Linked DNA regions of Homo sapiens: regions 2, 3, 4, 5, 6 and 7 are each linked to region 1. Evidence: promoter capture Hi-C in 16 types of primary human blood cells and fetal thymus (Javierre and others, 2016). All regions are on one chromosome and are shown on one strand. The core of a region is centred on a gene start or on the middle of the fragment in contact, and the rest is flanking DNA. Distances in the headings are between cores, read along the strand shown.

Region 1 (3,580 bases), core at 295-2,794:
TGGAGCCTTTGAATCTTGGGAGAAAGGGAAAACTAGCCCCATGTCGGGGCTCTAAATCCTGTTCTTTCCTAACCCTAGCAACTCTTGTCTGGACATCTGTCCTTCAGAAATTGCAGTTCATCTTGTTCAAGCTTAGTTTCATCAAAGCATAAACGAACATCGAGTCAGCCATCATAAAAGCTGTTTCACTCAAAAGAGCCTAAAGCACTCAAAAGTGCTCTTAGTTATAAAGTCCAGGAGGGTCCACCACCTTCGACAAATTACCTCACCTCTCTGGGTTTCACTTTCCTCAGTTATAAAACGCAAAGCCTTCACAAGGTAATCTATCAGGTCCTACTGAATTCTAAATGCTTTGATTCTTCTCTTACCAAAAGACCATTCCAAATCTACCTTAAACTAAAGCGGCCAAACGAATCCTCTAAACATCCCTTTCTTATTACTCCGTTAGTGAAGACTCCAAAATTACTCTCTATGGCTTCTTAGATAATCTTTTCTTTCTCCTAAGTTTTCAAGACATCCATAAGAAGGTCCTACTTACCTATCTACCCTTATTTCCGACTATTAGTCATTACAGTTCTGTTCCATACCCGCCGGTGTCCCCACGGCCTGCTTTTCACAGGACACAATTCCCAGCTTTTGAGTTTTGCTCGTTACCACCTCCCACACATCTAGCCGGAAACGCTAAGTTCTCCCTCTTAAGGTTGAATCCAAGGCCTTCAGTGAGGTCACGACTCTTTTCCAAGTAACCTTTCCCTATTTCTGTTAATGGTCCTTTCTTCAATCAACACGAATAAACTAAACCTTTACAAGATGCAAGACACACTGAGCGAATTACAACTCTATGTAAATCATCACATTTGAGCCCGTATCAACCACACACTCGGTTACCGGCATGCTAATGGCTTCCTTGGAGGCTTCACCTTAGGCAAGACCGTGCAACAGGAGGCTCCTCCACCCTCCAAAGCATCTAGGATAGTGTTGGGCACAGGGCAGGTGCTCCACACGAACACGCCCGGGTCGGCCCCAATCCACCGCCAGGACCCGCCGCGGCGCCGGGAGGGCAGGCGTTGGCCGCCGGGCAGCCGGGCCGTCCAAGGCCCAGGTGTCTGAGGTCACCCAGGTGGCGCAGGGCCGGCCCACGCACGGCCGGGACCCGGCCACTTCTCCAGCAGGGCGTCTCCCCATACCGGCTCCATCGCCTGCAGCCTCCCGGCCCCTGGACGTCCGGGCCAGGGCCTCGCCACCAACCCTCCTCCCGCCGCCAACCCTCCTCCCTCCACCTCCGGCCCCGCGCCCCCTTCTCAGCCAGTCTGACAGGTCCTGCCGCCGCCTGGCCGCCCTGGGGCGGGGTCCGGCCGCAGGCGCGCGACGGGAGGGGGCGCGGGGGTACGGAGACGGCGGCCCGAGGGGTCTCGCGAGCAGAGTCGAGCGCGACTCACCCGACGCCAAACACCAGAACCGGGGCCGCCCTGCGCGAGACCACAAACGACAGCGAAGAGCGTTAGGCTGTGGCCGGACAGTGGCGGCGCCGACACTTCCTGCCTGAAGGGGCGGAGCGGAAGGCGCACCGGAAGGCGCACCGGAAGGCGCACCGGAAGGCGCGGCGGGACCAAGTGGAACGGGGGTGCGCTGAGTGTTCGCGCCCGGGCCGGCGGGGTCTGCGTGTCCGCCGAGCGGCGGGGCTGCTGAGGCCGGACGCACACGGCCGGGGTCTTAATTGCCCCTCCGGCCTGCTCCGATCCGCTGCGATATCGCGGCCTGCGCTGCGGCGGTCGTCCGCAGCCCGGCCCTCGTCCCCCGCTCCTTTGGTAGCTCCGCCACCCTTCCGCATTCCTGGGCCCGCTGGGCGCGGCTGGGCAGGCCGCTGGAATTTGACCCGAGTGGGCCGCGATCGGCCGAGGATTTGGGGTCCCCTTTGACCCAGGCGGGGCGCGATCCGCCTAGGATTTGGGGTCCCCTGGCGCCGAACCCTGAGTTGCCAGATGTAGCAAGTAAAAGTACAGTTCTTCTAAATTTGAATTTCAGACAAGACAGGTTTTAGGGTTCGTCTCATGTAATGTTGAGAAGGTGAGGGCGGCGCCTGGGCGGATTCTTCTCCGTTCCAGAATCCCTTTCTCTTTTCAAACCGCATTACAGCCCGAGTTAAATTCTTTAACCTACTCCTCTCTGCTTACCCTCATAAGGTTTACGGCCGTATCAGGCTACGGCCGCAGCCTACGGCTGTTTGATTCCCCTTTTGGCCACAAGAAAGTTTTATTCGAACTACTTGCTTTCCTTTATCAAGAAAATGGCAACGCACACACATACATGCACACACAAATAAAAACACAAAGCTACGTTTTTCAGGTTTTGTTCTAGATCGTGTTTGTGGCTGTGTTCTTCAGGATATTTTCCCTCACCTTGAGGTAATCTAGCATTACTTCATCTAGCATTACTAAAATAGCATTACTTCAGGATGGTGGAGGATCGGCAATCTAATAGCAAATCTTTATTGAACTCTTCTTACTGCCTTAACATGTGCCGGATGCTGAGAGATGAATTCAAAGCCTCTTAGGGAGTTTATATTCTAGAAATCTTTGATCAGAAATTCCTAGAAGAGAGGGACCTTGTGTTCAGCACTCTGTAGCAGTTCTTAAACAGTAGCACGCATAATAACAGGGCTTTTAAAAACATTTTTGAGCCTCAAAACCGGGTATCAGGATTCAGTGAGTAAGGGGTGGAGGATAATTCGAATTTCTGGTAAGCACACATGATGCTGATGGGGTGGTCGCCATCCCAGCAGCACAGCTCTAAACGCGGTTCATAACTGTGTGTATTTTCTCAATAGTGTTAGAAAAGCAATTGCTGAAAAGTCACACCTGGTTCTACAATATTTACTCTTAGGTTTTGGTTCGATAGTCTAAATTAAAAAAAAAAAAGTTTCTAGAATTGTGCTGTCCAATACAATCGTCACTAACCACATGCAGCTAAACTTAAATTTAGTTCCTCAGTTGTATTTGATACGTTTTATTTTTAGAGATGGGGTCACCCTATGTTGCCTAACCTGGAATGCACTGGCTATTCACAGGCGTGATCATAATGCACTACAACCTGGAACTCCTGGCCTCAAGCGATCCTCTCACTTGAGCCTCCCAAGTAGTTGGGACTACAGGTGAGAGACACCGCACCAGTGCGTCTGGCAGTATTAGACACTTTTTTTTTTCTTGAGACGGAGTCTTGCTCCGTCGCCCAGGCTGGAGTGCAGTGGTTTGATCTCGGCTCACTGCAACCTCTGCCTCCCGGGTTCATGTGATTCTTCTGCCTTAGCCTCCCGAGTAGCAGGGACTACAGGCCTGTGCCACGACGCCCAGCTAATTTTTGTATTTTTAGTAGAGACGGGGTTTCACCATGTTGGCCAGGATGGTCTCAATCTCTTGTCCTCATGATCCGCCCACCTGGGCCTCCAAAAGTGCTGGGATTACAGGCGTGAGCCACCGCGCCTGGCTAGTATTAGACACATTTTAAGTGCTCAATAGCCACATGTGGTTAGTGTCCTTATTGTATGGCACAGAGAGCATTTCCTTAATTACAGAAGCTTCTA
Region 2 (3,580 bases), core at 406-2,905, 660 kb after region 1:
TGAAATCTAGCTTTATTTAGACTATATCTACTACAGCTATTTAGCTTTTCATTTGTATGTTCATTTTCTAAAATGTTAAAAAAGAATTGTTTGTATTAATTTTATTGGATGTTTGCTATTATAGTCATGCATTCCTTCAAAAAGTAATAAGGTAACCACATTTAATCTTGTTAAAGCTTGAACTTTAAGATCAGTTGAAACCAAAACTGAAAGAAAAAAGTGTTTTTCAAGTTCATTTCCTGTTGGCAAGTGCTGATACCAGTTGATGTCAGCAATTAATAGAGAATGTTCTTCAGCTATACCAAGAGGAAACTGTTTCCTGCAGGAAACACAAAAGAGTAAAATGTATAAATAGCTGACTTTTTTTTAAAGGATAATTCTACACACATATGAAATTAAAAAAAAATTTAGGGGTTCAAATTTAGTGAAGCTATTATTATTTGCTACAAAACACAGGGTAGTGACATATACAACTAGCATACGCCCAGAACTCAAAACCAGATCTAACACCAAGAACTTTTTCTAAAGGTATGTTATATCTGCAGTAACTAACAAGTTAAACGAGTTGTTTTAAATTCACTTGTAATAACAACAACAGATACTCAAGTAACCAGAACTTCCACTGATTCTCATGGTTGGTCAAAAGCATGTTTACTCATCTCTGAGCAGCTTCTACTTTCCATGTCAGCATTACTAAAGCTGCATTAATTACTTAAACATTTTTTTCTGAGTCCCAAAGTACACATTTCCATTGTGTACATACACACACACACACACACACACACACACACACACACACACACACACACACACACATACATATAGCCCGCCCGACTCCAATTGCCTACTGGACATTCTCCACTTTGATGCCCCAGAGACCTGAAACTCAGCATATCCCAACCTACAATTCTCTCTTCTATATACTTCTCTTTTATATTCTTTATCAAGGTAAAGAACATCACCACATACCCATCTGCCAAAGATAAGACACCTGGGCATTCTTGATTTCTTTCTTGACCTTCACATACAAATGGACAACCAAACTGTTGTTTCCATCTTTAAATCTCCTTTCTCCGTCTTCACTGTAATAGCCTTGCTTTGGGTCCCTACCATTTACTATTCACTGTATAGGATATTGATAGGTCTCTTAATTGCATGGTCTCGTCTCATGCACCTCTCATCTATTCTTCAAAAGGCCAACAGTGTGAAATTACTAAAATAACAATAATTATTGTTATTTCCTTACTTATAAATCTTCATTGATCTCTACTGCCTAAAGAATACAAAAAAATTCAACCAGTAAGGCAAGCCCCTTCATAATTAGGTTCTTGTCTCTCCAGGCTTCTCCCTTATCTCACTTACACTCATGGTAATTTACTAATATGCTGTGCTCTTTGTTTTTTCTTTTTGGAGAAAGGGTCTCACTTTGTCACCTAGGCTGGAGTGCAGTGGCACAATCTCAGCTCACTGCAGCCTCCACCTCCAGGGCTCAAGCAATCTCCCACCTCAGCCTCCAGAGTAGCTGGGACTACAGGTGCATGCCACTACATCCAGCTAATTTTTATATTTTTGGTAGTGGCTGGGTTTTGCCATGTTGCCTGGCTGGTCCTGAACTCCTGAGCTCAAGCCATCCACCCGCCTTGGCCTCCCAAAGTGCTAGGATTACAGGCGTGAGCCACTATGCCCGGTCCATGCTGTACTCCTTGGTCTCTGGTCCTCAAGGTGTATGTGTGTGTGCATGCATGTGGATGAACATGAGCATCCTTCTGTGTATCCATTGGCCAACACCTACTTGTTATTCACAACTCAGCCCAGCTATCACTTCTCTCAGAAGGAGCCTGTACTTAAGTGTATTATGAGAATCCACAGTGCGCTGTATTCACATTACAAAAAGCTATGATAGAAGAAATTGTTTTCATGCCCATCTTCCCACTTAAAATGAAGTTCACAAAGGCAGATGCTGCACTGTACTAGTATCACCATCTATTACAGTACTAGGCACATAAGCACTCAAAAAATATTTGCTGCATAAATTTCAGTTTCAAATATTTAACTTTAACCTTTATTTACATTCATATTCATAAGTGTGATTAGCTTAATTTCTTCTTTTTGTAATATCTTTGTCATGTTGTGGTATGAGGCCTACATTAGCCTTATAAATGAATTAGGTCTCTTTATGCTCTATGATAATTTACATGTCACAGAAATCATCCAGTCTTCAGTATTTGAAAACAGTGACCTATGAAATTATCCGTTATTGGAGTCTTTTGAAGAGCAAATTCTCTTTTTCACTTTGGTTTCTGGTTACTTACATATTTTGACTTTTTTGGGATTTCTATTGTTCAGGTTACAATCCATTTCATCAAAAAATTTTAAACATAAATTTCTGTTTATACTATATTACTTCATAATTCAAATAAATTTCCACCATCTCTATAAACTATTTCTCATTTTATATTTTCCTGCTTTTTCTTAAATGGTTTTGGCAATTATTTTAAAATACTTTTCAGGTTAAATGTTTTGTTACTCTAATTTATTAATTTCTTTATAAACTTTATTATTTCCAGTTGCATTTTACCCCATCCCATCTTAACTTAAACTACTTGTCCAATAGGAAAAACAATTTTAGTTGTTAGTCTCTGTATGACATTACTGATCTCTCCCTTCTTGAAAAGTTTTCCCTACTTTGGCTTATATATATTACATAGGTGTATATATATATATATATATATATGTATAAACATATTCTCTTCTGTTGTTCTCCAACTAATTTTGTCCACTTTTTCTAAGAGTTTTTCCCAGAATCTCCTTCCTTTGCCGGTCCCTTAAATGTTGTTACTCTTTAGGATTCAATCCTCTGCCACTTTCCCCTCCACATTCATCCACATATATGGCTTCAACTATTACATATGCTCTAATGACCATCAAATCTGTATTTTCAGCCCTGATCTCCTTCTTACACTCTGAATCTATAGCTTCTGCTTCCTCCTGGATATCCTACAGACAGCAAGCTCAACATCTCACCACACCCTACTTTAAGTTTTCCTCCTTTAGGTTAATAGCACTATGATTCACTCAGTTGCCCACATCAAAAATATGGAAGTCATGTTGATACTTCTTTCTCCTCAAGCTTGCACATGCAGCCATGAAATCCTTGGGTTCTACCTCCTTAACATTTCCTAAACCTGTTTCCTTCCCTCTAGTTCTAGTATACATTGGTTTAAGTCTCCTAACATTTTCAGTTGCATCCCCTCTAAGCCATGTTTTCCTGTAGCCCAAAGGGTTTTGTAAACCTAAAAATCTGATGAGCATAACTGTACCTATGTCAGCCTTTTTCTCTATATGGGAGTGCCTGAAGGATGTATTTATCTCTAGGACACTAACATGGGTCCTAGTCTATAGTAGCCATTTTATAACTTTCCCCCATCTATAGCCTTTAAAAAGTTCAAGACAGTCTAAAAGATGTTTTAGATATGAAGTTCCTGTTGTTTGGAATTCATACCTTTTGAGAATCTCCAGGTTTTAGTACCCATTACAGCAAAAAACAGAAATCAAAATGAAGCAGGCTAAAGGAAGACTT
Region 3 (3,580 bases), core at 643-3,142, 640 kb before region 1:
TAGTTTTAGTCTTTAAAGCTAAACTAAAAGAAACATGGCACATTTATGAGTAGGTCATGCTAATGCACGGTGGGGGCCGAGCAGAAAGCAGATACAGTACTATAGCTCAGAATATGAGACAAGTACAGTAATACAAATTTGAGGCCAAGCCAGATCTATTGTGAAACTTATAGAAATTGAAAGAAGAGAGAAGATGGAAGAGAGATTCATTTATCCATCAAATGAGCATTTATTGAGCACCTACTGTATGCCAGTGTTTTCTAAACACTCATCCTTTATATAGCATCATCATGATTTTGGCCAGGTCCATTTCTACTGATGTTGTATTTTAACTTAATAGTTTTCCACAAATAGACTTAGTTTTATTTGAATACATTTGTTAAAAGCAACTCGATATTACTTCCATTTGCCTTGCCATTTGGGATAAAATTAACCTTAAAAAAAGAACAAGGAAAACAAAGCAAGTTACTCATTTCCAGGTAGATACTGTGCCCACTGAAGCCTGCTTAAGAGGGAGGAAAAACAAATGTTAAGGGGTGTTCAAAATACACAATCAATTTTTTCTGCTCTGCCTGAACTAAAAGGATTAAAAGAGAATGGAAATGGAAATAACTTTCTCACTGTGAAATTCAATGCTGGTATTGAGGTTCTGTGCTCTAGGCAGCTACTGTGCTGGGAAGTGGGAAGGCAGACATGCACTTCACTTTATTCTCTGAGAGCTTGGTGGAGCGGAAAGACAAGCCCACAAATGAATGTTGCAAAGTGTGAGAAGAAAAATCTCAGAGTACCACGGACACCTTAGGGGTCTGTTGGCCAACTGAGAGGTTGAGGCATTCCTATTAGACTTCTCCTTCAGCTCATTTTCACTTGGGAATTATATCCTAATTCTAGGGTTTAATTTAATTGCCACTCCATATGTATGGATTGCTTCCCTCTCATTGCTCAGAACTAATGTAATAACCCATTTGGTTTTCTGAAAAACACAATTAAGGAGGGGGAGATTTCTTAGACTAAGCAGAAATGTTAAAGTAAAGTGAAAATACCCCATGTAGGTGGTAAAATATTGCCACCCATGAGGATGTAGGGGACTGTGGGTCAGGTGTCAGATCCTTCTCCCTCACCATATCTATGTGCTGACATAGGTGAGCAATCACATGTCTCACAGCCAGCAGCATGGTGGCCAACATCCCTAGGGAACCAGCTCCAGGGTTCCTTCATGTGGTTCAGCTTTTATAGTATTGGGAGATTATAAAGCTTGTTATTGACAAGCAGTGGACGGGGTGTAAAGCAGAAAGTGTATTGTCCTTACGGGTAACCGTGGTCACCCCACAGTGGGAGAAGAGAGGATGAGAAGGAAGGAAATGAGTGTAGGAGACAATTGCAGAGCCTTACTAGATTTGGACAGAGCTCAGTGTGAAAAGTGAATGAGAGATGGTGGGCAGAGGAGCAGTTAAATTTTGAAGGATGAGTAGGAGCTGTGTAGGCAGGGAAGGGCATTGCTTAAGTGGAGGACGTAAGCACCATCCTCAAAGTCGTAAAGAACAGGGAGCCAGGGTGGGTAAGGAAAACTTCAAGTCGTTTGGTGGTTGCAGCCCAGGTTTGAGGGAGCAGCAGAAGGGAGTAGGGATGAGGGTGGAGGGCGTTCACAGCAAGATCACGAGGGGCTGTCAAGCTGCGCAAGGGTCCTAGTCGTCATTTTGAAGGGAATAGAGACCGTTTTGTGCAGGGAAGGGACATGATCAGATTTGGAAGTTAGAAAGATCATCCTGGAGGACGGAAAATAACGAGGTCGAGGGGGAGATGGGAGAGGCGAGGTGGCTTGGACAGAATATCTTTTAAACCATTTCTAAATATCTTTCTCCTTGTCCTTTTTGTTATCAGTACCCGAAACCAAATAAGGAATATCCAAAGGCGGGATTCTGTTACATCAAACTCCCACATTGAAGAAAATAGCTTTCTGAGGCCAAATTCTTTTTTTCCTCTAACCAACCCAATCTAATCTAACACAATCATGTGTGATTCCTCCTGCATCCCAAGGGCATAATGTTCCTCTTTTACAAGTCTTGGAGTATCCATTTATTTATGAGATACAAAAATGAGCCCACAAGCTGATAGGCTTTCTTCCACTCCTTTTGTTTTATTCATTCAGGGTTTACTGAGCGCTCACTCTGTGCCTGGCATTGGGGTAGTTGCTGAGCAAACAAGTCTGACTGTTAAAGAATTCTCGTTAGGAGGGAAGACAGAATAATGTGCAAATAACTACTCAGTAGTGAAGCAAATGTTTAAAAGGTGCTAAAGTGTTATTTCCAAAGGACCTGGTGCCCAGAAATACAGACATCTGTGCTGGAAAGTGGAGAGATAGTTGGGGGTCCTGAGGAGGGAGCTGATGAGAAACAACAATGTCGGTATCAGGGCAGACAGAATTGTCATCAGTTACCTCAAACTTCCAGTAACTCACAGGAGAGACACGCTGTGTTGCCAATATCAGATTCCCTTTCCACATCCCCTGTTCAATTATTTTATAAGCTTTGGGGTACAGAGTACATTTCTTCGGTACAGTCCTCCATTACTTATGGGTCCAGTCTTACAGCTTATCTACCTGCCACTGGATTCCAATCCTTTTTGCAGAGTTCATATTTGTACTTATAAACATTTGTCTCCACAATTTATTTCTTCAGGATTTTTTGTTTGTTTGTTTTTGGTTTTGTTTTTTGTTTTTTGTTTTTGCATATATGCCATGATGCAGAGCCATTCCCAGGGTCTAAACAAAAATCAACCTTGATAAAAAGTTTAAGTTACCTAATTCTAACAGGACACAGGATGTTGATCATGTTTTTAAAAAGGTGAAGTAGCAGCCAGCTATACGCCAAGGATCTTAGCAGGAAAACTTGCAATTTATAGCGCTGATTTTTCCTACCAAGCTTCCCCAGAGGAGAAAAACAGAGGGAGAGGGAGAAAAAGAACAATACATTTCTAAGCTCACACTGGCGGAAAGTGGGATAGTAAGAGAAGATGGCTTCCTTCTGGTTAAAGATGCTATGGTAGAAGGAAACTAGACAGAAATTCAAAGCAATGGGAAGGACATTTTCTGAAATTGGACCAAACCTGGATACAGAGTGTAAGGAGAATAAGAAAGCAATAGCAGCCCGAATTTTGAATCTCATTCCCTAAGTAAACATCCAAAAGGTTTCCTCAAATATGAAGTTAATGATTTTCCTGCAAGCAACATCCTTTTAACATTCTTGCTGTTGCCCAAAGCCACTTCTCTGACTTACACAGGTACCACTCATTCTGGCCACAGGCACTCTTGCCAGCGCCAGTTGATCATACTCAGATCTGGTCTGCTGGAATATAGGCTGCTTGTTTATTTGTCTGGGAGATGAAACTTATAACCATACTTCAGTGGAGTTTTTTCCTGACACAGATTTGGGTAAAGGAAGCAAACCCCTTCAGCAGTCAGAGGAAAAGCTGCCATGGGCGGAGGTTGCTAGACAAACACCTGTCAATGCAGACTGCCCATAGGATGCCACCCAGTGAAGTGTTCATTGTGGGCTCATTTCCCCCTCCTTATTTCTTTCAC
Region 4 (3,580 bases), core at 671-3,170, 620 kb before region 1:
ATCACTGGTAGTCACAGAAACCCTCATGAAGACATGCTGACCACAGTCCCCATCCTTGCTCAAAGAACAAGGCCTGAAAGGCAATTTCCCTCTCTATTTCCAGCAATTGTTATCATTACTTAAAATCTAATTGAGAGGCTAGCATCCTCTTTTTTCAAGAATGCATAGAAGAATGAGAATTGTTATTTATCTCTTTTCATGTTTTTTTGTGGCTAGGTCATGAAGTGCATACATTGAATCCCTAGTGGCCAAAAGGCTTATGACATGGCTCTCACAATATATCATAAGCCCTCTGACCACTAGGGATTCACTGTAGGCATTTGGTCGTCTTTGCAGCAGCAGGCAAGGAAGCTTTCTAATGATGCTCTTGGTCACACCACAGGTGGCAGCAAGTGGTACCCATGGATACAACTTATAAACATTAATTAGGAGAGGGGGGAAAAAAGAAGTGACAGAGATAAATGTGCTGGAAAGGGAGTTTAAGAGTAAGGCAAGAGGAAAATGAAGAATGAGAGAAGGAAGAGCAGGACCTCCATAGTAGGTGCCACCAGCAATTGTCTACCCATTGCCAATGGCCTTAGGATTTTAGATCATTTGCCCTTGCTCACCAAGAAGTCACAGAATGTGTTTTCTTTTATAATCACAAATTGACCTATTTTCATTTTAAAATGACAAGACGATAGAAGAGAGTGTAAGATTTGTTACAGAAAGGGCCATGGTATTAAGTTGTTTATTTGGCCTTGACCAGAAAGATAGATTTAGCATTTAGAAATGTTTATTGCCATTTTTTATGACCTTCTTTTCCCACATCATAGAGAAAAAAGATCAAGATCTCAATATCTCTTTTACAAATACAAGTAAGGAAGGAGGAATGTTAGCTTATTTATTCTGGATGCAATTTGTTACCCTCCAAGAAAATAGAGGTGCTTGTCCTGTGCTGAAAATAGCCCAGTTAAATTTTAGTAAAAAACACACTGTGTATGATTAATTTACAGAAATTATCATTGGTTACATCATTTAACTTAAATCATCATTAGTGGCCTTAAACAGCTCTTCGTTTGCTCTGCTTGTCCTCAGGTAACGTCATCTTGCATGGAATGTTGCTCACATATTAAAGATAATTAAATACTGAATACCTGATTAAAATAATCTTGTATATTTTGGAGTAAACATGTATAATTCATGTTTTCAGCTCTTGCCAGTTTCACATTTTATTTAGCAGAAAATATCTACCCAAGATTCAAACTGCTTGAGAAGGAAAGTTCGAAACATTATTCCACATCATTTTATATATTGAGATTCTACTATATGTGATCATAAAAGTTAGTATGTGTCTATAATCCTAATAGAATCTTGTTTTTGCTTTTTATAAGTCTGTATTTGAAAGGCAAAAATGTCCTCAGTGGAACCTGATTTGTAGAGAGAGACTTTCTTATGCAATGGATTTTTGCATCTAAGTTAGTTTGTGCCACAGTTTTGCTAAAAACACATACTTAACCCTCTTACATTCTTCCTTGCCACAGCCTACTTTTAGGACCATAACTTCATACAAAGCAATCCCAAGGTTTTCTGTTTCATTAGTCTGTCACCAGTGGACACGTTTTTTACCTATCGGTTCTTCCTTATCCACAGGTATCATAAGTCCTGAATTCCTTTTTTGTCCCTTCAAGAGTCAGTTTCTCTCTCTCTTCCAGGCGGATTGCCCTCTGTCTAAGCATCCTGTAGTCAGCAGGTTAGGCAAACTCCCCAGACTTTACTTCCAGACAGGTAGAACGGCAGAAGGTACGATATTGCCCAGTGAGTTGCAGAGTTAGAAGTCAAAGGTATATAGGTCAGAAGGAGTGTTCACCAGTCTGCTTCCTGCCTTGCTCTGAAGACTGGTCTTTGGAATGGTCACCCTGATGGAATGGTCCCCCCAACTATTGGGCATCTTTCCTTGGCCTTGCCCAGCCTGGCCTTTGCCACACAGTCATGTTTTCATTAAACAGATGCTACTTGAATCACACTATGAACCACTTTGGGAAATTTTGCATTAATGCATTAAGTAATTGAGTAAATATTCTACTAACTTAATTCCCACTATCCACTAGGATAGCACTTTGCCAAATACTAGGTGGGTGAAACATAGTCCCTACCCTTAAGGACGTCACAATTTAGTAGACTAACAAATTTTGAGTGACTGTACTGATTAAAACCTTTCATCATTATTCCTGAATGGTCAATCCAGAAACTGGGAGACAGGAGGAAGAAAGGAGCTTCACAAAGCATGGATAGAGATTGCCAACATTGTCATGAGCGCTCCCAGATGCAGTATGTCTCATGGAATAGACAAGACCTGGCCTCTCAAAAATCTTTTTTCATGAGGTCCAGTGTGGGTGTTTTATATGTTTGTTTGTTTTTGTTTGTTTGTTTGTTTGTTTTGAGATGGAATCTTGCTCTGTCACCCAGGTTGGAGTGCAGTGGCACGATCTCGGCTTGCCGCAACCTCCGCCTCCTGGATTCAAGCAATTCTCCTGCCTCAGCCTCCCAAGTAGCTGATATTACAGGCTCCCGCCACCATGCCCAGCTAATTTTTGTATTTTTAGTAGAGACGAGGTTTCACCATGTTGGCTAGACTGGTCTTGAACTCCTGACTTCAGGTGATTCGCCTGCCTCGGCCCCCCAAAGTGCTAGGATTACAGGCGTGAGCCACCGCACCCAGCACTATATGTTTTGTTTCTTAATTAAACCACATATCTATCTCTCTAGGAATATCTGAAATGACATTAGTGATATTTTAGAGAGTCATGTTGGCTTTCCAAGATGACTCTTTATATGGCAATTTTTGTATTGTAGGAAGTCTTGAAAGAAAATCAGGCTGTCAGAAGGAACTTGGTCAGGCACTGACTCTAACACTGTTTTGGAGTCCAGAGAAAATACTCTGCCCTGATGGAATAGCAGCCTCTGTTAGTTACTAAAACTCCGGAAGATCCGAGCTTGGAAATGGACTGAGATACCCTACATGGGATATGAATGAGTGACTTTTCCCTGAGGCTGAGCTATTAGGTCTGGGGTCCTTCACTCATGTCCTCAAGAACTTTTCAAGGGCCATCCTTTGGTCATTTTGCCATCGGCTATTAACTTTTTTTTTTTTTTTTTGAGACAGGGTCTCATTCTGTCACCCAGGCTGAAGTATAGCGGTGCATTCACAACTCATTGCAACCTCAACCTCCTGGGCTCAAGCAATCCTCTCCCCACTTGAGTAGCTGGGACTACAGGCATGCACCACCACTCCCAGCTAATTTTTTTTTTTTTAAAGACTGGGTCCCACTATGTTTCCCAGCTTGTCTCAAACTCCTGGGTTCAAGCGATTCTCCAACCTTGGCCTCCCAAAGTGCTGGGATTACAGGCGTCAGCCACCACGCCTGGTCTTGTGCGTAAATACTCAACCAGAAACCTTAAACTAGGAAGAAGAGATATATGATCCTCAAATTAGCCTAGTCAAGCTTAACTTGTTCTCTGTTTGTTTAGAGAAAGCTCTTGACCCTCAATTGACAGAAATACCTGGGCAGATTTTCTCTACATTTATGATTTATTTGCC
Region 5 (3,580 bases), core at 283-2,782, 600 kb before region 1:
TTGGGAAGCTGAGGCAGGAGAATTGCTTGAACCCGCGAAGCAGAGGTTACAGTGATCCAAGGTAGCACCACTGCACTCCATCCTGGGTGACACAGCAAGACTTTGTCTCAAAAAATATATATAAATAAAATAAAAAATAACACTAATTCCACACTTGATGGATATTCAAGACATTTCCTTCCAGTCCCAGCCCCTGCCCTTTCCACTCTGGTGGCTGGATCTAATTTGCTGTGGCCTACGCCCTGTCTATTGCTAAAGTTTCTAGAAAGAGCATCTCATTATGCCTTTCTTTATTAATTTTCCAAGAACACACACCATCAATAGAAGCAGGTGTCTGGAACAACTCAAAGTATCACTTAGCCCAGTGCATTTTGTACTTTTTAACCACCAAAGTCTGTGTTCAAATAAAGCAAAACATGTAAAACAATTTAAAACAGCACTACTCACATGGACGCAAGAACAGGAGGTTTCAAATCTAAATTCTCTCCCCAAGCCACCCCACCCCACCCTGTACCTGGGCTGTCTATAATTTGAAAACTACTGCCCATTCCTTCCCTATTAATCAATCTAAGCTGTCTAAGAAAGAGTTTAATGATCCAGGAGGGAAACTTCTGTATCTGTTCTTAATAAGCCCACTCTTAATAAATGAGATCAATCGGAAAACTCTGATAAGTTCCCCCCAAAAAATTGGGATCTGTATTCTGAGCTTGGAAAGTTATCCGTCCCCAGTGTGGTAAGTTGTATTAGCAGCAGCAGCAGCAGTCCAGACTGCAGCCCTGGTGCCCTGCCCTTCATTAAAAAGACAGCAATTGATCCTGGGACTCCAGGAGTTCCTGATTGACTCAGACTACAAAATCACTTTTGGGCTTTAAGCTCTGATAGACAAATTCTTATGTTACCTTCATACCTTTTCTCCAGCTGTGACCCAAAAAAAGAGGAATTGACTTTTTTAGGAACACACAGGCCCCTTGACTCCCAGGCTAGTGCTCTTTCCACAGCACCATACTGAACATCTTTTCATCTCCATCCCATGCTGGATCCACTTTTATGTGACCATGACTAAGAATAAGATGAAGATGGGGTAAAGGGAACAAGAAGGAGAGTAAGAAGAACTTTAACTTACTAAGAAGGTTCTATGGACTTGTGTTTACCATACATTGTTCTTCTTACATTGTCTTTATTTCTGGAAGTTTCTGGGGTAGCCGTTCTGACCCCTGTTTTATATGAAAAGGAGGGTATTAAATTTGCTCAAGATTATTCTCCTAGTAAGTGACAAAACTGAGATTTAAACTCTGGCCTGTCTGATTCCACAATCTGTTTGCTTTCCACCATAACATGATGCCTCTGCTTTGCAAATATTTCCTTTGGTCTTCTCTTGAAGGATTTTTAAATGAGAATTTCTTTTAATAACAATTAAAAATGAATAATTATGGTTTAAAAAACAGGTTCTACTTCTATGATTAGGTGTAAAACTAAATCTAGTTTGGAAAGTAGTCATGTTTGAAAACAAGTAATATATGAGGTTGATTTGCAAAGTGAGATATATAAAAAGGTTGTAATAGGACATTATTTCATGTCAGTGGAAATGTATATCTCAACCTATGAAAGAACCTTTACTCAAGGCTCCTTGTGTTTATTTGCTTGTCTGTTTCAACAAGAAACAATACTACTGACCCCATGAGACTGCCAGCCTAATTGTAGTTATAACATTGTTAATAACACTGTAAGGTTCTTACGGACAAATATGCACTGTCTGCCCATTTAATATTCTTTGCTTAATTTAATTTTGGAATGTCTGCTTCTGAAATGATTAGGAAGTAAACTAGGAGTCTTCAAACCCAATTAAATTAAACCCAAACCCAAAATCCAGACTTACAGAGATAAGTCAGTGTGATTTTATATTTTGTCTGTCCTTACTTTTTGGGAGACCAGATGGTTATCTCTCAGCCTACTGTGAACCAGAATTCTGCTTGGTACATGAGCCTCATATATCCCAGAGTGTTAACTAAGTGTTTGGGAGATTTACCCATTTTACTATTTGTTAAATTACTAGTCCAGGTTTGAAGGAAAAGATATGTTTCTCTAAAGATCTACCCTTAGAATGTTGCGTAATTACCCATCAAAGTAAAATTGAATTAGTGAGTCATATACTATCCAAGGTGGAACAGTTACATGTGCCACCTTAGAGGTGGCTGCAGGTATCCAGTGCATAAACGGTGCTGTTAGAGAATATCAGTAGAGTTTATATTAAATCCTTATAACAGACAACAATGCAGAATAGTAAGACTTCGGAAGTCTATCAGAATAAAGGTGCCATTCTCAGTGATGAACTTAGAAGTCAAAGTCAATGTAGTCTTCATAATCCTTCTTCTTAGCTGGTTTTGGGTATTTCCTCATGTACATGTATCACACTGCAGATAGTTCAGTGTTCTATAGCAAACTCTTGCTTAATTCTCTCCCCTCTTTGTTTAAGCCCAGATGAAGTTAATTTAAAATAAGGGTTAGTCCTAATATGGCATGTTTAAAAGCCTCCACTTCCTTTTGGTTCAATGTTTTATAACATATCACCATGCATAAGAATGAAATATTAATTATTCACTTAACAGGGACTTCTAAGGAACTGAGAAGTGAAATAATTCCCTAAAATTAAACCATGCCAATTTGATCTCTTGTATGTTTTTGAAGGTGTTATTAGATGAATAGATGAATAGAACTAAGCGTTGCATTTCTTCGCTTCAACCCATCTTGATTCTACCTGTTGTAACATGTATTCCCCTCACATTTTCTGTCCACAAGCATATAATGAAAAATTCTGTTAAATGATTTTATAATACTGTCATTCTCCCTGAGTCTTTTATTCAACCAAGATTTCTTTAGCACTTGTTTGACCCAGACTGAACTCTGGGGGCAGTGGCCAGATAAAAGCAGGAGGGAAAAGACCAGATGGGTAGCTGACCACTCAGCTGGTAGAAATAAGCAAGTGGAGAACAGAATTTATTCCTAGTTGACAAGATAATACAGGATTTTATTTTCTAAGGTACCCAAGTTGCCCAAAGATGGAAGATATGGTCTAGCCTGGAGGCCAGGCCAAAGGAATTTAACCTCTGGGCAGCATTTCTCAGGGGAACCAATGGTATGAGGATAGGAAAAGAGCAGGGAGCTGCTTCCTAGAGGGGCCTGGGAGGTTGCAGGCTCCCGAGCCCAGCCACCAGGCAGCTGGCTGCAGAGGTGGTGGGGCTGAGCGGGCCCTGGGGAAGAAACCTAGCAAGCAGCACTGCACTGTTGTGAGGAAAATACCCTCAGATTCACATCGCATCCATGCACTCAGCATCAGTACCAGTCAGCAAGATGGAATGGCATGGACGCTGTGGATAGCAGTAGCAACACTGTGCACCCAGAGAATTTAGATGCCTCTGGGGCCACCCTCAGAGACCTAAATGCTTCCAGGTGTGAGAAGAGCAGAGCTAGCTAGTTAGGAGATAACCCCAGGGAATAATGAACGGGTTTATTACCAAAACTTAACTTTATCTCCAGATTATAACACCTGAGGATGTAGCTATTAGATTGGGATGATTTTTCT
Region 6 (3,580 bases), core at 789-3,288, 590 kb after region 1:
TATAGAATTCTTATGACTAACAAATTTTTCAAGTGGCAGAATACATCTGTTCAACTGACACAGAACTGCTATAGATTCACTACCACACCACCAACGTGACATTCAATTTATCACTGGCTCAACATTAACTAATATTCTCCTTTCTTCAAGGTCACTATTCACACTATTTCCTGCTTTTATCCCTTTAGTAAAAAGAAAGGGAACATATCAAATTTACGTATCTTAATTCTGCAGAAGCTTAACCCCACAAAAGCTGTAATTAATGCAAAGTAGCATTTCACGCTGGATGTGGGCTCACGCCTGTAATCTCAACACTTTGGGAGGCCGAGGCAGGCTGATGACATGAGGTCAGGAGTTTGAGACCAGCCTGGCCAACACAGTGAAACCCTATCTCTATTAAAAATACAAAAAAATAGCTGGGCGTGGTAGCTGGTGCCTATAATCCCAGCTACTCGGGAGGCTGAGGCAGGAGAATCGCTTGAACCTGGGAGGCAGAGGTTGCAGTGAGCCAAGATTGCACCACTGCACTCCAGCCTGGGCAACAGAGCGAGACTCTATCTCAAAAACAAAAACAAAAAAACCAAAGTAGCACTCCAGCAAGCACTTCTACTCACCCTAAACACTCCAAGGACAGCTATGTTTATAAACGAATTGCAAAGAAGTTACCACAAATCAGATTATGTACAAGGGTAATCTGGCTAAGGTAATAACTCCAGAAAATGAAGAAGGGACACTGTAGGAAATGGCAGGAAAAGAAACCTAAAGAGAAATTTGGAAGGAAGAAATGAGTAGAATTTAGAATCTGATTAGATGAAAAAGAAGAGGGGAAAAAGAAATTTGCTTCATCACACAGGTACAACAGTTAAGGCTTGGATCAGTTTACTGAAAGTATAAAAAGAAAAGATCAAGGCCAGGCGCGGTGGCTCACGCCTGTAATCCCAGCACTTTGGGAGGCCAAGGCGGGCGGATCTTCAGGTCAGAAGATCAAGACCATCCTGGCTAACACAGTGAAACCCCGTCTCTACTAAAAAAATACAAAAAAATTCGCCAGGCGTGCTGGTGGGCGCCTGCAGTCCCAGCTACTCAGGAGACTGAGGCAGGAGAATGGCGTGAACCCGGGAGGCGGAGCTTGCAGTGAGCCGAAATAGTGCCACTGCACTCCAGCCTGGGCGACAGAGCGAGACTCTGTCTCAAAAAAAAAAAAAAAAAAGAAAAGAAAAGATCAACATAACTTGAAGAAATGTCCACCAGAGTCAAAAAGAACCAGAAGTAGGGAAACAGAAGTAGGGAAAGACCCGGGAATGTACTGTAAAGTCACAGAAATCAAGGCAAGATTTTAAACACTGGGGTTTTCTGCTTATCCATATAATGATGGTATGAATGAAAACTGATACGGTTTTCAACTGATATGGTTTCAACTGATAGGGTTTTCATATCATTTCATAATGATGGCATGATGAAAACTGATCAATATGAAACATAAACTACATTAAGAGTTTAAAATACTTCTGTTGACTCTATAATTATACACTTAGCAATTTATCCCCAGGAAAATAATTAAAGATTCATGGGCCAGGTGCAGTGGCTCACGCCTGTAATCCCAGCACTTTGGGAGGTCGAGACGGGCAGATCGCCTGAAGTCAGGGGTTTGAGACCAGCCTGACCAACATGGAGAAACCCCATCTCTACTAAAAATACAAAATTAGCCAGGTGTGGTGGTGCACGCCTGTAATCCCAGCTACTTGGGAGGCTGAGGCAGGGGAATTGCTTGAACCCAGGAGGCGGAGGTTGCGGTGAGCCGAGATCACGCCATTGCACTCCAGCCTGGGCAACAAGCCAAACTCCATCTCAAAAAAAAAAAAAAAGAATTAAAAGATTCACTCAATTTTCTTTTTTTTTTTTTTTAGATGCAGTCTCCCTCTGGTGCCCAGGCTGGAGTGGCAGTGGCATGATCTCAGCTCACTACAAGCTCCGCCTCCCAGGTTCAAGCGATTCTCCTGCCTCAGCCTCTCGAGTAGTTGGAATTACAGGCACCCACCTCCACGCCTGGCCAATTTTTGTACTTTTAGTAGAGACGGGGTTTCACCATGTTGGCCAGGATGGTCTCGAACTCCTGACCTCAAGTAATCTGCCCGCCGGGGCTTCCCAAAGTGCTGGGATTACAGGCGTGAGCCCAGCCAGATTCACTCAATTTTAAAATATTTAAGCACCTATGTGCCAGGCATTGTTCTAGGAACTGAATAAAGCAGATGAAGGTTCTGTTCTTAGGGATTTAACATTCTAATGGAGGAATATGGGAAAGAAAATATAATCATAATAAATAAATTCTATAGCATGTTAGAAGATGGTTTGTGCAATAGAGAAAAAAGAAACAGCAGAGAAATGAAATCAAGTAACAGTAAAGACACAGAAGGAATACAGTTGCAATTAAATAGACTAAGTTTTGTTGAGAACACAACAGATAACCAAGACTTGGAGGAAGTGAAGAAATGAGTGCAGGGCTAACTGGAGGAAAAGCATTCCAAGCAGAGGGCCCTAAGCTGAGAATATGGATGGCAGTGAAGGGGAGTGAAAAAGTAAGAAAGGTAGTAGAAACAAAGTCAGAGAAGTACAAAGCAGAGCTAGTAAGTCCCTGCAGGCAACTGTAACGACTTTGGTGTTTACTCTTAGTGAAATGGGGAGCCATGGGTGTTTTCAGCAGCGAGTGACACAATCCAATTTCTCAAACCTTTTATGGACAGGGATGAAAAGACAGGTACCAGTAACTACTAGTTAGTGTAATCTGGGTGATACAATGGTGCCTCCAGACCAGGTGGTAGCAATAGAAATGGTGAGAAATGGTCATTTTAAGATAAAACATTGAGAATAGGACCCAAAGGATTTTCTGTCAGATTAAGAGGTATGAGAGGTATGAGAAATACAAGTATCAATTTGATTTTTGGCCTGTGCAGCAGGAAGGACACAGTAATAATCAATTCAGATAGGGGGAACTATGTGTGGTATAAAATTCAGTGAGCAGATGAGGGTTCCCATTTTAGACATCCTAGAGGAGATGCCACATGGGCAGCTGGATGGATAAAACTGGACTTCAAGAGATAAACCCGGCACCATTTTCAATATTTAACTAAAAATGACCATTTCCTACCTCTTCCTTGTGAGAGTCACTTCTGTAATGATGTTATTTAGAACCATGAGATAGGACCTGATCACCAAGTGAGGAAGTAAGATACAACATAAAGGGCAAGAACTAAGCCCTAAGGCACTTCAATATTAATAAGGTGGGGAGAGAAGAAAGGGCAGGCAGTGAGGTAAGAAGAAAATCAAGGTGCTTATAATCCCACGGCTTTGAGAGACCAAGGCAGGAGAATAATTTGAGGCCAGCAATTCAAGACCAGCCTGGGCAACATAGTGAGACTCCATCTCTACAAAGAAAATTTTATTTTTATTTTTATTTTTTAGAGAGAGAGGCTCACTCTGTTGCCCAGACTGAAGTGCAGGGGTGCAGTCATAGCTCACTATAGCCTCGAATTCCTTGGCTCACTCAAGCAATCCCCCTGCCTCTGCCTCCCAAGTAGCTAAA
Region 7 (3,580 bases), core at 753-3,252, 580 kb before region 1:
AGCATCAGTACAGATGGCCCACAGTCATAAGAAGTTCTTGGCACCATTGCAAAAAGGCCTGACAGAAGGCAGCAAACAGATTTGTTCCCAAATACACGTGAAGCTCATCCTTGTGGACAATCAGAATTAACTGGGCGAGGAACAAAGATGAGAGAGAACTAAAGTATCACTGGACTTGGTTATTACTGTTAATATGACCTCATCTATTCTCACAGGTTGGGGTACACAAAGATATCGAGGTTACAAAAATAAAGGCATGACACAAAAACCTATCATGTCAAAAACTGCACTCAGTATCTTCCCAAGAGCCTGCTACCCCATGTTTCCTACCCCTGTAAATGGCACCACTATCTATGCTTTTTTTTAACGCTGAAACATGGGGCCAATCTTGATACCTCTCTCTATCTCACCCTCGTGTCTCTCCTCTAAGGCAGACTCATAAAAGTTAGTTGAATGAATGAATGAGTGGAAAAAAAAAAAAACACCAAATCTTATTTCTGTCCACTTCTCGCCATTCCTTTTGCCACGATCCCAGTTAAACCTCCATCATTTCTCAGCTAGACTATTGTAAATATCTCCTAGTGGTCTTCCTGCCTCTAGTTTCTCCTAAATCCAGTTCATCCTGCACATTATAGCCCAAATGATCTTTCTAAAATACAGATAAAATCATTAAATCTTCTGCTTAAAAATCCTTCACTGGTTCCTCTTTACCCTTGGGATAAAGTCCAAACTTTTAAACATGACTTAGAGAGTATGATGTAGCTGGGGACCTTTTTCCTTCACAATCTCATTTCCTAACACTCCCTCTGTCCACTCTGCATTTCAGCCATACTGGTCTGCTTTTCTCTTTCTTAGCAGTGCCATGTTCTCTTGCCCAGGACCTTTGCATGAGCTGCTTCCTCCTTTGTCTCTTCTGCCTGCCTACAACCCCCTCCACCCCTCACCCCCCACCCCTGCCAAACTCCTCTCTTCCCTACTTAACCTCTTCCCAACTTTCCAGTCTCATCTAAGATAATGTTTCCTCCTGGAAGCCTTCTCTGACTGGCCAAGTTTAAGTGAGGTATCCTCTCCCAATATGCTCTCATAGCACCCATCATTTCCTTATCATGCTTCTTCTATCTTAGGTAGGATTGCCTGTTTTCTTGTTTGACTCTTCCACTAGATCGTTTCATGAAAGAACATAGCTGGTCTCTTATTCATAGTTGTGGCCCGTGATCCAGCACCATGCCTGGCACAGAGTGAATTCTCTCTGAATGCACTAGTAGCTAGCTGGACTCTTTAACAAGCTGTATTACCTTTTGTCTTGCTGAGGTTGCAGAAACCAGATGCAATGATTTTTTATGCTACTCATTCCTGCAAAGTACTGTGCTAAGGTGGTTCATATAATTTCCTTAATCTTCGTGTTGTTGTTCCCATTTTGTAAATGAAAGAACTGAGGCTCAAGTTGTCATGTATGATGCTGATATTAAGGAATGGGACCCTCAGTCTGTTTGACTCCAGGGACCAGTTCTTTCTATTTTCCACGTGATTTACTGCCTCCTTAGAATAAAAGAAAAAGTTTATTCTTAAAAATGTATAAGGATCATTTTTTAAATCCTTAATTTCTCACTGCCTGCCAGTGTTCATTTGCCTTCTGATCTCCAATAGTCAGCCCTGAGTGTATTTTTCCCTTAAATTAAACTGAAAGTACTTCCCTTTGTGCTGTATTCTTTATTCTCAAGCTTTCTTCTTCAAGCCTTATGTCTACAGGAGTTTTCAGCCTTTCTCACTTTCTCTACAGAGAAAGTAGCTGGGCCTTACATTTCTGTTTCATTTCCATTGTCCTTTTAAACAGGCATTATTTTCCTGGACCTGCTCTGTGATTACTGTTTCCATAGCACTTTGCCTGAACTCAGTTGGCCCTTCATGTTCTTCAACCGTAGCCTGATGTCAGACTACTTAGGGGGGCTTCCACTGGTATTTCACTGGGGAAGCAAACTGCTACTTGTTACCACTTAACCAGTTAATTAGCTATGCTCTTTGTGGAAGAAATATCTACAAGTACAGCTAGAGAAGAGACATGTGCAGTTTCTGGGAAATTTTCCATTTTGTGTTGACCATGAGAGTTTTTAGGTTCCTTTAATTCAAACCAGAACACAGACGCACACAGTCAGCTGGAAAATGTGAGAGGCAACAGGGTGTTCCGTGAATGAGTGACAGCTTTCCAGTTGAACAGACCTAGATTTGAATGCTCTTTCTACCACTTCTCTGTCTATATGACTTTACTAAATTACTAAAGCTTTCTGTGCCTCAACTGCTTCATCTGTAAAATGGAGATAATGATGGTGCCTATCATAAAATAATGCCTGGCACAGAGTAAGTACTCGATTAACAATGGTGTTAGTGTGGGTGGTCGTAGTTAGTGGAATAGAGGCTCCAGATGGGGCCACACTCTAATCTCAGGAAACTGAGGATGTTACCTTATGTGGAAAAGATGACTTTGCAGATGTGATTACATTAAGGATCTTAAGGTGGGAGATTGTCTTGGATTATCTGGGTGGGCTCTAAATGTAATCACAAGTGTTCTTTTAAGAAGGAAGCAGAGGGAGACTATGTGGCCGTGGAAGCGGAGAGAGATTTGAAGATGCTTTGCTCTTGGTTGTGAAGATGGAGAAAGGGACCATGGGACAAGGGGAAAAGGCAGGGAAATGGATTCTCCCCTCGAGCCTCCAGAGGACGCCCAGCTCTGCTATCTTGGTTTCAGCTCAGTGAAACTATTTTGGACTTCTGGCCTCCACAACTGTAAGAGATTAAATATGAGATTTTTTAAGCCACTGGGTTTATGGTAATTTGATGCAACAGCCAAAAGAATATAGTGGTGATATTTTGGGAAATGAAACATGGCTCCAAATGAGCTGATAAAGAGGAATAAGATGTTAATATAAAAAAGATGATATTACAGGGTTAAATGTGGAGTAGAGAGGCCCTCTAAATATTATATGTGTGCCTAAATACGTGGTCAGAGGAATTGCAACGCTGGCGCTAGAGGAAGTCTAGAAAGAGAGGGTTTTGAAGGAGTAAAGCCATTTGTGGGGCTTTAGACATAAAGAGAAGTGAGGTCTCCTTGAGAAGGGAGGTGATGCCTGGTGATTCAGGGTGGGGCTGACAGCCAGGGTGTCTGAGCAGATGGCGGAATGTCCTGTTCAGAAGAGAGTGATCAGCTCAGAATAAAGGCTGGTTTGAGGAATTTCCCTGGGCAACCAGGCATGAATCTTAGAAAAGAGGAGGTGTGTCCCAGAAACAAAAGGAGCTGTTTTCTATTGTTCTCAGTGCCATGTTGGTGATAGAAAGAGGCTGTTCAAGAAAATACATTCTGAAAAAGACCTCCTGGGTCTTTAAAACAAGTACAGACTATTAGCACAAGCTGAATACCTTCAACAGAATCTGTTTCTAGCAGTACCCTGAGAGGCCCTAGGTCCGAAGTGAAGCTTGCTGCTTCCCATGAGTATATATAGTGCCTGTTTATGTGCTCATGTTTCTGTTCCCACTTCTGTACTGCCCTCCTCTCTTCTCTTTGCCCAGTTGCCAAAGTCTTTCCCAT

What was found. The method cuts DNA at HindIII sites, captures the fragments that hold promoters and counts their contacts. A CHiCAGO score of 5 or more calls a contact.
Region 2: a contact is called between a fragment that was not itself captured here and the fragment with the promoter of MYL12B in region 1, in 3 of 17 cell types (activated CD4 T cells, neutrophils and naive CD4 T cells). The highest score is 5.6, in activated CD4 T cells.
Region 3: a fragment that was not itself captured here is called in contact with the fragment with the promoter of MYL12B in region 1 in 1 of 17 cell types (erythroblasts); the score reaches 6.0 in erythroblasts.
Region 4: a contact is called between a fragment that was not itself captured here and the fragment with the promoter of MYL12B in region 1, in 4 of 17 cell types (monocytes, erythroblasts, M1 macrophages and 1 more). The highest score is 6.8, in monocytes.
Region 5: a fragment that was not itself captured here is called in contact with the fragment with the promoter of MYL12B in region 1 in 4 of 17 cell types (erythroblasts, M1 macrophages, M2 macrophages and 1 more); the score reaches 7.1 in erythroblasts.
Region 6: a contact is called between a fragment that was not itself captured here and the fragment with the promoter of MYL12B in region 1, in 1 of 17 cell types (neutrophils). The highest score is 6.9, in neutrophils.
Region 7: a fragment that was not itself captured here is called in contact with the fragment with the promoter of MYL12B in region 1 in 1 of 17 cell types (M0 macrophages); the score reaches 5.6 in M0 macrophages.

The regions. Positions count from the first base shown.
Region 1 is chr18:3,260,097-3,263,676 of GRCh38, reverse strand. MYL12B (myosin light chain 12B) reads right to left here and starts at 1,544. Exons shown (of 4, transcript NM_033546.4): 1 at 1,440-1,544. MYL12-AS1 (MYL12A and MYL12B antisense RNA 1) reads left to right here and starts at 1,318. Exons shown (of 4, transcript NR_130145.1): 1 at 1,318-1,624; 2 at 2,347-2,405. RefSeq lists a silencer at 999-1,888 and an enhancer at 2,099-2,148. The HindIII fragment of the contact is 3,443 bases long and covers 134-3,576 here.
Region 2 is chr18:2,602,511-2,606,090 of GRCh38, reverse strand. All of the region lies in intron 13 of NDC80 (NDC80 kinetochore complex component), which reads right to left. Among named protein-coding and RNA genes, the nearest start is that of NDC80, 33 kb to the right of the region's middle. The HindIII fragment of the contact is 2,954 bases long and covers 179-3,132 here.
Region 3 is chr18:3,899,127-3,902,706 of GRCh38, reverse strand. The region is part of intron 3 of DLGAP1 (DLG associated protein 1); the gene reads left to right. Among named protein-coding and RNA genes, the nearest start is that of MIR6718, 16 kb to the right of the region's middle. The HindIII fragment of the contact is 1,272 bases long and covers 1,257-2,528 here.
Region 4 is chr18:3,882,085-3,885,664 of GRCh38, reverse strand. The region is part of intron 3 of DLGAP1 (DLG associated protein 1); the gene reads left to right. The region is part of intron 1 of DLGAP1-AS3 (DLGAP1 antisense RNA 3); the gene reads right to left. The region is part of intron 2 of LOC124904238 (a long non-coding RNA gene); the gene reads right to left. MIR6718 (microRNA 6718) reads right to left here and starts at 312; the gene lies at 233-312. The HindIII fragment of the contact is 3,134 bases long and covers 354-3,487 here.
Region 5 is chr18:3,863,398-3,866,977 of GRCh38, reverse strand. The region is part of intron 4 of DLGAP1 (DLG associated protein 1); the gene reads left to right. Among named protein-coding and RNA genes, the nearest start is that of DLGAP1-AS3, 13 kb to the left of the region's middle. The HindIII fragment of the contact is 7,229 bases long and covers 1-3,580 here.
Region 6 is chr18:2,669,226-2,672,805 of GRCh38, reverse strand. The region is part of intron 3 of SMCHD1 (structural maintenance of chromosomes flexible hinge domain containing 1); the gene reads right to left. Among named protein-coding and RNA genes, the nearest start is that of SMCHD1, 15 kb to the right of the region's middle. The HindIII fragment of the contact is 3,598 bases long and covers 240-3,580 here.
Region 7 is chr18:3,839,486-3,843,065 of GRCh38, reverse strand. All of the region lies in intron 4 of DLGAP1 (DLG associated protein 1), which reads left to right. Among named protein-coding and RNA genes, the nearest start is that of DLGAP1-AS3, 37 kb to the left of the region's middle. The HindIII fragment of the contact is 557 bases long and covers 1,724-2,280 here.